Linked DNA regions of Homo sapiens: all the other regions are linked to region 1. Evidence: promoter capture Hi-C in 16 types of primary human blood cells and fetal thymus (Javierre and others, 2016). All regions are on one chromosome and are shown on one strand. Each heading gives the region's core, a stretch centred on a gene start or on the middle of the fragment in contact. The rest is flanking DNA. Distances are from core to core; before and after follow the strand shown.

Evidence for each region. The method cuts DNA at HindIII sites, captures the fragments that hold promoters and counts their contacts. A CHiCAGO score of 5 or more calls a contact.
Region 2: a contact is called between the fragment with the promoter of RAB6A here and the fragment with the promoter of LIPT2 in region 1, in 5 of 17 cell types (fetal thymus, non-activated CD4 T cells, naive CD4 T cells and 2 more). The highest score is 7.6, in fetal thymus.
Region 3: the fragment with the promoter of COA4 here is called in contact with the fragment with the promoter of LIPT2 in region 1 in 2 of 17 cell types (activated CD4 T cells and naive CD4 T cells); the score reaches 5.3 in activated CD4 T cells.

The regions. Positions count from the first base shown.
Region 1 is chr11:74,492,215-74,496,067 of GRCh38, forward strand. LIPT2 (lipoyl(octanoyl) transferase 2) reads right to left here and starts at 1,510. Exons shown (of 2, transcript NM_001144869.3): 1 at 1,024-1,510; 2 at 1-150. The coding sequence starts at 1,489. LIPT2-AS1 (LIPT2 antisense RNA 1) reads left to right here and starts at 1,166. Exons shown (of 2, transcript NR_171028.1): 1 at 1,166-1,759. RefSeq lists silencers at 1,276-1,385, 1,496-1,745. The HindIII fragment of the contact is 1,360 bases long and covers 403-1,762 here.
Region 2 is chr11:73,759,046-73,762,898 of GRCh38, forward strand. RAB6A (RAB6A, member RAS oncogene family) reads right to left here and starts at 2,029. Exons shown (of 8, transcript NM_198896.2): 1 at 1,521-2,029. The coding sequence starts at 1,590. LOC124902711 (a long non-coding RNA gene) reads left to right here and starts at 2,113. Exons shown (of 2, transcript XR_007062775.1): 1 at 2,113-2,195; 2 at 2,692-3,853. RefSeq lists an enhancer at 1,180-1,680 and silencers at 1,977-2,286, 2,447-2,636. The HindIII fragment of the contact is 8,881 bases long and covers 1-2,746 here.
Region 3 is chr11:73,874,465-73,878,317 of GRCh38, forward strand. COA4 (cytochrome c oxidase assembly factor 4 homolog) reads right to left here and starts at 2,382. Exons shown (of 2, transcript NM_016565.3): 1 at 2,293-2,382. It overlaps PAAF1 (proteasomal ATPase associated factor 1), which reads left to right and starts at 2,535. Exons shown (of 12, transcript NM_025155.3): 1 at 2,535-2,604. The coding sequence starts at 2,558. RefSeq lists enhancers at 2,633-2,682, 2,703-2,772. The HindIII fragment of the contact is 5,366 bases long and covers 1-3,853 here.

The DNA of each region.
Region 1 (3,853 bases), core at 260-2,759:
CCACGGTGACGTGCCTCTGGAGCTCCTTACTCAAGGAAGTGACGCCTGTCCCAACCAGTCCACAGGGCACGATGTGCTCAAACCACGTGAGGTCGGTAGAGCAGTTGAGAGCCAGGCCGTGGGATGTGATGTGCCTTCCACAGCGGACTCCTGCAAGGCAAGCCAAAGGGTCTTAGAGTAGATACCCTCCACTCTCCGGGCTTTGGTGTCCCTCTCAGGGCGATGAGAAAACTGGATTAGATCACCGGTTTTCAAATTTTGTTTCTGGAGAAACAAGGGATTGTACTCAGATGGGAAAAGGAAACAAATGAAAGGAAGGGGTGCGTGGCTTCAAGCAGCTGCACTCATCATGAGGATTCCAGGAAATGTCTTTTAACAGATTCCAATACTTAAAAAAAAAAAAGCTTGGGGACAGGCGCAGTGGCTCACGCCTGTAATCCCAGCATTTTGGGAGGCCGAGGCGGGCGGATCACGAGGTCAGGAGATCGTGACCATCCTGGCTAACACGGTGAAACCCCATCTCTACTAAAAATACAAAAAATTAGCCGGGCTGGTGGTGGGCGCCTGTAGCCCCAGCTACTCTGGAGGCTGAGGCAGGAGAATGGCGTGAACCCGGGAGGCGGAGCTTGCAGTGGGCCGAGATTGCGCCACTGCACTCCAGCCTGGGTGACAAAGCGAGACTCTGTCTCAAAAAAAAAAAAAAAAAAAAGTTTGAAAATTAGCACCCTTATTTGCCATGACATTGTCATTCGCAGGACGTAACCTGGCAATTCACTTCTCTTGTCTCTCCCTTAACAGAAATGCGTGTTGGACTAGATGTGAGGAGCCTTCTGCTTCTGAATATACGATATCTGAAAAGGGGCTTAAAAACTCAAACGCAGCGGGTAGCTGTGATTCAAAACCCGCGCTAGATACGCCTCCTCCCGGCCCTCACCTCCGTTGGTCCAGCCCCGTCAGACCCCGCCCCCAGGCCTCAAGCTCCGACCTCGGCTCTCAGGTACCGCCCTGCTCCGCGGCGCTCACCGATCGCGCAGATCTTGCGATCGTCTAGCCAGACGCCAGTGTAGGGCGGGGGCCGCGCGCGGGCGTCCTGCAGGCCCTGGAGCTCGCACAGGCGCACGGCGCACGCCTCCAGCGACGCTACGTGCATGCGCAAGCGCAGGCCGAGACGCCGCAGGTCGAGTACCGGGTGGCAAAGCAGCTGGCCCGGGCCGTGGAAGGTGGCCAGGCCACCGCGGCCTGTGACGCGCACCTCGGCGCCCAAGGCCCGTAGCCGCGCAGTTTCCTCGGGCGTCAGGCCGCCGCGCAGCCCGGCCGTATACACGGGCCCCGCGGGCTCGCAGAGCAGGAGCGCGCCCGCCTCAGTCCCCGACGGGGCCTCAATGCCTGGCTCGGCCTGCAGCCGCCGCAGCCAGCGGTCCTGCAGCCCCAGTAGCTCGGCGTACGGCACCCGACCCAGGCGCACCAACCGAACGGCGGGTTGCCGCATCGTGCCCACCGTTGCGTCCGCGGGGCCCCGCCCTCTCCGTGGGCCTGGGGGCGTGGCCTGAGGGGCGGGGACTCGGGGGCACACCCCGAGCCGCAGCTCCCAGGTGCGTGTTAAAAGCTGGAGGGGGGATATGTGATCCCAGGACCAAAAGCGCGGGGCCAGACTCATCGGTTCATTCAACAACCAGTATTTAGTGCCTGCTGTGTTCTGCAGGCCCTGCCATAGGCGCTTGATACAGCGGTGCATAGCGTATGAGAAAGATCTGTCCTGGTAAGCTTACATTCTTACAGCAGACGATAAGTATTTTAAGTGTTAAGTAAATAAGGTTATTTCACGTATAAGGTGTTAAATGCTATGAAAAGAAAAATAAAACAGGGTAACGTGGTGTGTCCTGTGTTGAGCCCCTGGGGGACGCAAGAGGGAGATTAGCTTGCCTACAAGGTTATTGGTGGAGGTAGGGAGAACTTAAAGATCAGCACCTGTAAGAAAGTGAAGGAAGCAGGAATTTGTAGGCAGAGGAAGAAGTTGGCCTGCAAAACAGTTGCAGCAGAGGCCTTGACCAATCCCAAGGCATGCTTGGAGCCTAGGATGACCCTTCAGAGTAGTTCCACATTAAAGCAAGGGGGCCAGAAACTCTTATCCTTGCATTGACCAGTCATGGATACAGGCTACACCTGGGGAGGAGCTGTGATTTTTTTTTTTTTTTTTTTTTTGGCAAGACTGCTTCCCTCGGTGGAGGGCGGCCCCCAGAGAAGGACTCAGTTGTGTATCATCAGTAACCAACTCCAGAAGCTGAGGGAATGACTGTCTAGGCCCTGAGGGGGTGTCTGGACCACAACATCAGCTATGTTGCAGTTAGAGTATCATTTAAACAAGTCTGAATTCAATGAATTTTTACTGAGGACTTTTCAGACACCATAGGTGTCTGAAAAACATTTCATAAACATAGACATAAAGATCCTAAGCAAATATTAGCAAATCAAATCCAGCAATTTATAAAAGGATTAATACATCATGATGAAGTAGGGTTTATCCCGGGAATGCAAGGTTGGTTTTGCATTCTGAAATCAAACAATGTAATTTACCTTAAAAGAGAAAAGCCTTCATTGGAAGAAATAATAAAAATTTTTTTTAAAGAAAAGCTATGATTATGTTAAAAAATACAGATAAATCTATTGGCAAAAATAAACACCTCTTCTGACCAAAATACTTAGCAATCTAGGAATAGAAGAGAAATTTTCCAGTCTGATGAAGGGTTCAAATTATCAATCAGGGTTTGGACAAGAGAAATCACATATGTACTATTTTAATTAAATGTTTTATTTGAGAAAATTGGACACTCATATGCAGTTGTAAGGAATAATATGGACAGATTATATGTACCCTTTACCCAGCTTCCCCCAATGGAAACACCTTGCAAAACTGTAGTACAATATCACAACCAGGATACTGACATTGATAAAGTCAAGATGCAGAACATTTTCATCACCACAAGGATCCCTCATGTTGCTCTTTGTAGTTACACTGCTTCTTAATTCCTGGCAAACGTCTGTGTTGTATAGATGGAATCATACAGAGTGCAACCTTTTAGAATTTTTTTTTCACTCAGCATAATTATCTGGAGACTCATCCAAGTTGTTGCATGTATCAATAGCGCGTTTCTTTTTATTGATGAGTAGTAGTCCATAGTATGAATGTACCACAGTTTGTTTAGCCATTCACTCACTGAAGAACACCTGGGTTGTTTCCAGTTTTCAGATATTCTGAGTAAAGGTACTGTAAACATTTGTGTACAGGTTTTTGTGTGAACTAAGTTTTCATCTCTCCGGAATAAATGCCCAGGAGTGCAGTTGCTGGGTTGCATGGTAGTTACATGTTTCGTTTTTTAAGAAACTGCCAAAATGCTTTCCAGAGCGGCTGTACCATTTTACATACCCACCACCAGTGTATGAATGATCAAGTTTGTCTGCATCCTCATGAGCATTAGCTTTTATTTTAGCCATTCTAATAGGTGTGTGGTGGTGTCTTATTGTGATTTTAATTTGTATTTCCCTATTGACTAATGATGTAAGACATCTTTTCATGTGCTTATCTTCCATGTGTATATTCCCTTCAGTGAAATGTCTGTTCATGTCTTTTGCCCATTTTCTAATTAATTGTTTTTCGTACTGTTGAGTTTTGAGATATCTTTATATATTCTAGATATTAGCCCTTTGTCAAATATGTGCTTTGTAAACAGTTTCTCACAGTGTATGGCTTGTATTTTCATCCTCTTAACCGTATCTTTTGCAGAGCAAAAGTTTGTCATTGTGATAAGGTCCAATTTATCCACTTTTCCTTTTATTGATGCTTTTGGTTTAATAA
Region 2 (3,853 bases), core at 779-3,278, 730 kb before region 1:
TTTGCAAGAGTATTAACCTCTGTGATGGCATACAAATTAGTATAAATAGTTCAAAGTAGTAATAAAAGCTACGAATTTATATCACTTACATGCCTTCCAGTCAAAACAAATAACTAATGTTTTCTATAACCTCACCTAAAACACCTAGTAGGTACTCAATGTTTGATGACTCAGAACTAATCTCTCAATGTCTGAATTTTAAAGATGGGCATGCAAAGTATGAGAAAAACAAAGGAGGGTAATCATCTCTGAATTGTCGAGTGTCAAGTTTGTATAATACAGCATAAAACTGGAATTACTACAAGAAGTAATCGTAGATACAACCATCACAAAATTAGGATCTAGTATCTAATACAAAAGTACAGTGACAGCAGAACCTGACCAGGTAAATGACATAACAATTTCACTCATCAGACAGTACAGAATATTAAGCATAAAAGAATTATTTAGCCCAAATGGTATTTAAATCTAATTTAGGTAACTAGATGATGAGTCTGTTCCTACTCTACTCCATTTTCCAAAGGAAATCCGACAAAACAAAGATGTTTGTTATTCCAAGCCTTCTCTCACATGAATCCTCAATATATCATTGGAAAATACTCAAGAAGGAATGAATAATTAACATTTCCCCAGTAATTCCCTTTTGTACCACCATGAGACTCAGACGCTGCTTCATGTTGAAAAGAGAAAAAGGGGAGGTGAGATGAGAAAAATTCCAAGTAAAATGATCATGACATAGCATCTGGCAGAGATTGAAAAATCATCAACATTGCCAAAAGAATTGTCAGTGATGAAAGTCAAGAGAACAAAATGAGGTTTTCCGACAAGCCACAGCCCCATCTAACCTAAGGGGCAAAAATCTCCACTGCCGACGCTACCCCTTTCACCCCCAACCACCCCATGCTCAAGTCGTCTCCAATTCAGATGTTTCCTCTATGGCCCAGACTAATTTCCCACCCAGGTGAAAATCATTTAATTTTTTCTACTACCACCCCTTCCCACCTTCCACGACATCAGCACTTCGCAGGGCCAAGCCTCTGGGGAAAACAACGCCCAGATCCCACCCTCCTTGGCCAAGGTTGAAGAGGGCCCGCTCTCGGGAGTGGGGCTTCCCTGAGTGGGCCTCACAGAGCTGAGGAACTGGGAAAAGAGCAAGGAATAAGGGTGGGGCTCAAGAAAGGGGGCCGGGGTACGGGCAATGACCGAGACCGGAGGAAGAAAGGGATGGACAAGAGGCTGGGCGGGGTGAGGTCTGGGGAGGGAGGGCAGATCGACCGGAGATGGCCGGACTGCGGGGAACGGAGCCGGGGAGTCGAGGATTGAAGAACCCGGGGAACAGGGTAAAAACTCGGCCACTGGCGAAGAGCCAGTGGCACCGGGGGGCACATCGGGAAGGGCTGCGGTGGCAACGAGCGCGGACGCGAGGCGGGCAGGGAGCCTCCGCGGACGGAAGGGCCGCACCGGGGGCGGTGCGGGGACGCTGCGGCCAGCTGCCAGGAGTAGGGGAGCCACGCACTCACCGCTTTGCTCCCCCAGGAACACCAGCTTGAATTTCCTCAGCGGATTCCCGAAGTCTCCGCCCGTGGACATTGTGGAACTAGAGGAGCGGCCGCCGCCTCAGCCTAGAGACCTCCCGGACCGATGCTGCTCCAGCCAGCTGACGAAAAAGGCGAGCGGAAGGGCGGGCACCGAGCTCTCTCGGCCCCTGCAAGGCCCGGTGGAGGAGCCCGGCTGGAGGGCAGCAGGACTCTCCACAGACTGGCAGCCGCCGCCGCCTCCCGGCAGAGTAGCCTAGCACCGAGCGAGGCCCGCGGCTGGGAAGGGAAGGAGGGCGGTGTCGGCAGGAGCCAGGGGTGTCCTCTGGCTTCCCAAAGCTAGGGCCGTTCCCTCCTTCCGCACTCGGCTCCCAGACCTGGGGAAGAGAAGCTGAGGGTGGCGGAGCCGGAACCGCAGACGTATCTGGGACCTCTCACGCGCAGCGCCTGAGCTTCCACAGCTGCCGCCGCCGCCGCAGCCCAACCTGCTGAGTGCGCGAGCCTCTGGAGCGGCGCGGGGCGAGCCCGGGCGCGAGCCTGCGGCCCCGCCGGCCGCTGGCGTGCGTGCGTGCGTGCATGCGTGCGCGCCACCGCCATCGCCATCGCCTTCCTGGTTTGGACAGCTCTACCGGCTCCTCCCGCACGGCGGCGACGGGGCAGGTTAGGTTTCCACTGGCGTCAAAAGAAGCCAGGAGGAGGCGGGGCAAGCCAGGGATAAGTTAGTGGGAGGCTGGAGCCCTTACGTCACTTACATAATGAGCCAATCGGAAGGGGCTGAGGGCGAGCCCACACGCGAGTGAGGTGGCAGCGTGAGAGCGCGCGCAGCCCTCGAGCTGTGGAAAGCGGAGCACTGTGGCGGCCATAAGAAGTGTGGCGCCTCTCAGCCTGAGGGGAGGGGAAGGAAAGAAAGGGGAGGGGGAGAAGGGTGGGGCGGAGGCGGGGCCGGGACAAAGGTGGAATATGATCCCCCAAAAAGTGTGGGTGGGGTCCTATAGCCTTAAAATTTGTAATGGGAGCCTCTTTCCTGAGCCCTCAGCCGTGCCTCACAGTCCTCAGATCCCTTCTTCACCATTGCACACACCCCACCTTCTCCATCCTCTCATCATAATTCCTCACAGGCATCTTACTAAATAACATTCTCCTCCATTGCTCCCAGGAATGTTATAACTGCCAGAATCATGGCCTCCCAATTTTGCAGATGAGGAAACTGAAGCTTAGAGGGAGTAAATGACTTGCAAAATCCATAAAGCGGGCTGGGCGCGGTGGCCCACGGCTGTAATCCCAGCACTTTGGGAGGCGGAGGCGAGTGGATCACGAGGTCAAGAGATCGAGACCATCCTGGCCAACATGGTGAAACCCTGTCTCTACTAAAAATGCAAAAATTAGCTGGGGGTGGTGGCGCGCGCCTGTAGTCCCAGCTACTCGGGAAGCTGAGGCAGGAGAATCGCTTGAACCCGGGAGGCGGAGGTTGCAGTGAGCCGAGATCACACCACTGCACTCCAGCCTGGCGACAGAGCGAGACTCCATCTCAACAGAAAAAAAAAAAAAAAAAAAAAAAAAAAGCCGGGCGTGGTGGCTCATCCCTGTAATCCCAGCACTTTGGAAGGCTGAGTTGGGTGGATCACCTGACGTCAGGAGTTCCAGACCAGCCTTGGCCAACATGATGAAACCCCATCTCTACTAAAAATACAAAAAATTAACGTGGTGTGGTGGCGGGTGCCTGTAATCCCAGCTACTTGGGAGGCTGAGGCAGGAGAATCGCTTGAACACGGGAGGCGGAGGTTGCAGTGAGCCAAGGTCACACCATTGCACTCCAGTCTGGGCAACAAGAGCGAGACTCTGTCTCCAAAAAAAAAAATCCATAAAGCAGCTGGGCGCGGTGGCTCACGTCTGTAATCCCAGCACTTTGGGAGGCCGAGGCGGTAGAATCGCTTGAGCCCAGGAGTTCGAGACCAGGCTGGGCAACAAAGCAAGACACTATCTCTACAAAAAATAAAATAGCCGAATATCGTGGTGTGCTCCTGTAGTTCCGGCTACTCAGGAGCCTGAAGCAGAAGGATTGCTTGAGTCCAGGAGTTGGAGGCTGAGGTATGGCACCACTACACTGAAATCTGGGTGACAGAACAAGTCCCTGTCTTAAAAAAAAAAAAAAAAAACAAAAAAACTTTCTAAGTGAATAATAAAAAATATGTCCTTACATTTGTGTCTATACACAAATGTATATCATTTGTGTATATCATTCACAAAACATTTATGTACTTTTTCTCATTATTGGGGAGTTATTTGCTTAGCTGTAGAAATGACAGGATTGAAAAAGT
Region 3 (3,853 bases), core at 1,132-3,631, 620 kb before region 1:
GAAAAAAAATGTAAAAATTAGCTGGGCATAGTGGCACACACTTGTAGTCCCAGGTACTCAAGAGGCTGAAGAGGGAGAATCCTTTGAGCCCAGGAGTTCAAAGGCTGCAGTGAGCTATGATGGTGCCACTGTACTCCAGCTTAGGTGACATAGTGAGACCCTGTTTCAAATAAATAACCTTTCTTCTTTTATCCTACTAGCCTTATTCTATGCTGAAGAACAAAGTTTAAAAAGTGAAAGAGGCTGGGTGCAGTGGCTCACACATGTAATCCCAGCAATTTGGGAGCCCGAGGCAGATGGATCATAAGGTCAGAAGTTCAAGACCAGCCTGGCCGGGATGATGAAACCCCGTCTCTACTAAAAATACAAAAATTAGGCGGGCGTGATGGCAGGCACCTGTAATCCCAGCTACTCGGGAGGCTCAGGCAGGAGAATCGCTTTAACCCAAGGGGCGGAGGTTGTAGTGAGCCAAAGATCGTGCCACTGCACTCCAGCCTGGGTGACAGAGTGAGACTCCATCTCCAAAACAAACAAACAAACAAAGTGAAAGAGTGCCCAAATATGGGTAGGTTTTGACACATGGGAAGGATGGAAAGAGTTCACTGTGGCTGTAGCATACAGTATGCAGAAACCTGGCCTCTGGGTCTATAAGGTGAGATGGCTTTGTAAACTATACAAAAATGTGAGGTGTATTTATTTGCCCAAACTGTCTTGCCCGTCTGCATCAGAACACTCAGCAGAAAGCAGCATACAGAAGGAACTTAAGGTTTGAAGAGAAATGACTTCAGCCTTTGCAAAAATTTCACCATGATGGGCTGTAAAGCAACTAGGACTCCTTATTGCCTTAACTGTGTCTCTCATTCACTCAACAAATGATTAAGTACCTATCATGTACCAGGCACTATGCTAGTGCTGAGGATTCAAGACTGTCTAAGTCAGTTAAGTTCCTGGCTTCATGGAGTTTACAACCTAGACAAGGAAACAGGGCAGTTTACTACACAGTGTACAGATAGCAAAGACTGGGACCACAGTGGAGGGATGCCTAATCCAGACAAGGGCAGGAATAGGCAGGGAAGGCTTCCTAGAGGAAGTGATTTCCAAGCTGAAACTTGACAGATGGAACAGAAGTTAGCCAGAGATGGGAAAACTATTTTTGGTCAATGGAAGAGCAGGTGGTTGAGATAGAATCTGACACATGAGAGCAAAAAAAAAAAAAAGTTCAGTGATGGGAGAATACAGTGTGAGAATAAGACAATATTAAACTGGCGATATAAGTAAGTGATCATCACAAGGCTTTGTAGGACATAGTAGGGAGTTTAAGACTTTTTATTCTGAGGGCAATGGGGAATCACAAGAGGGAGTTAGGCACTTTACACAACTCATTTGCCTTGGAGGCGGTATAACTTAAGCAAGAGGGAGAAAATGGGCTTTGAAACAGACTTGGACCTAGCTTTGTCACTGCCTCATTTGGTGCCCTTGGACACATCATTTAATAACCTCTCTGGAAGCACAGAGATGAAGCCGGGTGCCATGGCTCACGCCTGTAATCCCAACACTGGGAGGCTGAGGCGGGAGGATGGTTTGCGCCCAGCCTGGGCAACACTGTGAGCCGTGATCACGCCACTGCATTCCAGCCTGGGTTACAGCGGGAGACCCTGTCTCAAAAAAAAAAAAAAAGAAAAAAAAAAAGGTAAGGTTTGTAAGGAGGCTGGTATGTCTAAAGAGTTCAATAAATGATAGTTTTCTCTTCCTAAATACACTGTTAACTCTTTAAATAGGGCCAGGAGCAAATAATTTAGAGAAAGAACAGTGGAATAGAAAGTGCCTTGATCCTAAACCAAGAGATCCGTGTTCAAATCCCAGCACTACGCCTTACTATGTAATCTTTTTCATTTTAGTTTTCCCATTAATAATATTTAATTCGCACAATTAGAATGAAGATTAATATAACGAATGAAAAGCGCTTGGGCTACTATAGGACTCAGTAAATGCTGCTGTACTCTCCTCTCACCACCTTTTGGCTTCAGTCTCCTCTGGAGTAAAATGACGACGACCCCTGCTCAGAGATCAGGGTAGGCTAGATGGTTGGCAGCTGGATCGTGGAGGCTGGCCTAAACAAGGAAGTCATGGAAAGGATCTTAAAGCAGAAAAATGCTGGCAGCCACGAGGCCTGAGGCGCCTCAGGCGTATCGAGGACTTTGAACTTTGAGGACGCATGCGCGCGCGCGGCCGCTGATCGCAGCCCCGTTGTGCCCGCAACGCCTCCTGAAGAACGCGGTACGCGATGCTCACCGAACAGGTGGGAGAAGAGGGCCCGAACGCACGCTCCTACGCGGCGGCTTGGGTTTCGCAGGCGGTTGGGGATCCTCTGTACATCCTTTCAGGAACCAGCCCCTCGTGGGGAGCGTGCACACGGAAGGGGCGGGGAATGTGAAAAAGTCACGTTTTCATTGGTGGCCTCTTGGTGTTGAGCCCACCTCTGTCCTCGCCGCACGCTTCTCGGGGACTCACTTCCGGGAAGGGGCGGAAGAGGTGGGCTGGTGGAGGCGGGGTCGAGATGGCGGCGCCTTTGAGGATTCAGAGCGACTGGGCGCAAGCCCTCAGGTGAATCCAGGCCCAGAACAGAGTCAGAGGAGGCGGGTAGTGGATGTTGCTTTGCGTCAAGGAGAGCCATGCCTGGTCCAGGATATCAATAGGGGTTACTTCGTCAATTGTCGAGGGATATGGAGGGAACAGGGTCCGGAAAAAGAAGTATCAAACCCGTATGGTCATTCTCTGAAAAGCTATCCCTAGGCCAAGGGAGCACATGAGCTGTGTGATCCCCGCGTCAGAACTAGTATCAGTGAGTTGGAGAAAGACAGGGATACTGGGAGGCAGGAAGGCTTTTGGCCAAGCAGTCATTTAGCAAATATTGATTAGTCGTCAGTTACTTCCAGAAGTCTCTGTACTCACCACCACTTTGTGTATGTGATGGAACCTTTGTATTCTCCTAGGCCCCTAATGCTATATTAGGCATACTGGACGATACTATTAAGGAAACTAATACTGTGTCCAGGCCCCATACTGGATGCTTGGTGGAGCTCAGATGTATACTCTAAATATAAGTGATGGTTCCTGCTCTTCAAGAAGCTGACATCCAGGCCAGGCGCAGTGGCTCATGCCTGTAATCCCAGCACTTTGGAAAACTGAGATTGGTGGATCAGTTGAGGTCAGAAGTTCGAGACCAGCCTGACCAACATGGTGAAACTCCGTCTCTACTAAAAATACAGAAATTAGTCGGGCTTGGTGGTGGGCGCCTATAATCCCAGCTACTCGGGAGGCTGAGGCAGGAGAATCGGTTGAACCCAGGAGGTGGAGGTTGCAGTGAGCCGAGATTGCACCACTGCACTCCAGCCTGGGTGACAGAGCGATACTCATCTCAAAAAAGAAGAAAAGCTGACGTCTTAATTAGGAATACACAGCAAACTATTCATTCATCTAACATTTATTGATCTTATACTATTCCAGTTATTTCTCTAGGCTTCAGGATGAATATAGCAGTGCTATATTTGGCAACTGCTACTACTAATAAGGGTTTTTCAAATTGAAACAATGGTGAAGATGAATGAAACATAGCCTTCTGCATTTAAGAAATTTACACCTTACTAAATTTATACCTTACTTAATTTAGGTGGGCTAAAATACAGACTAGTTGCTAGTACACAGAATGTGATAAGTAATAAAGAACAATAACATGAAGTGCCACTAGCTACCTATGAGAAAATACAGCACCAGAATCAGAAGGCTTAATTTGCCCAAGATCATGCATCTCGTCAAATGATAGAGGGTTGCTGTCAACCTAGATCTTTCTGTC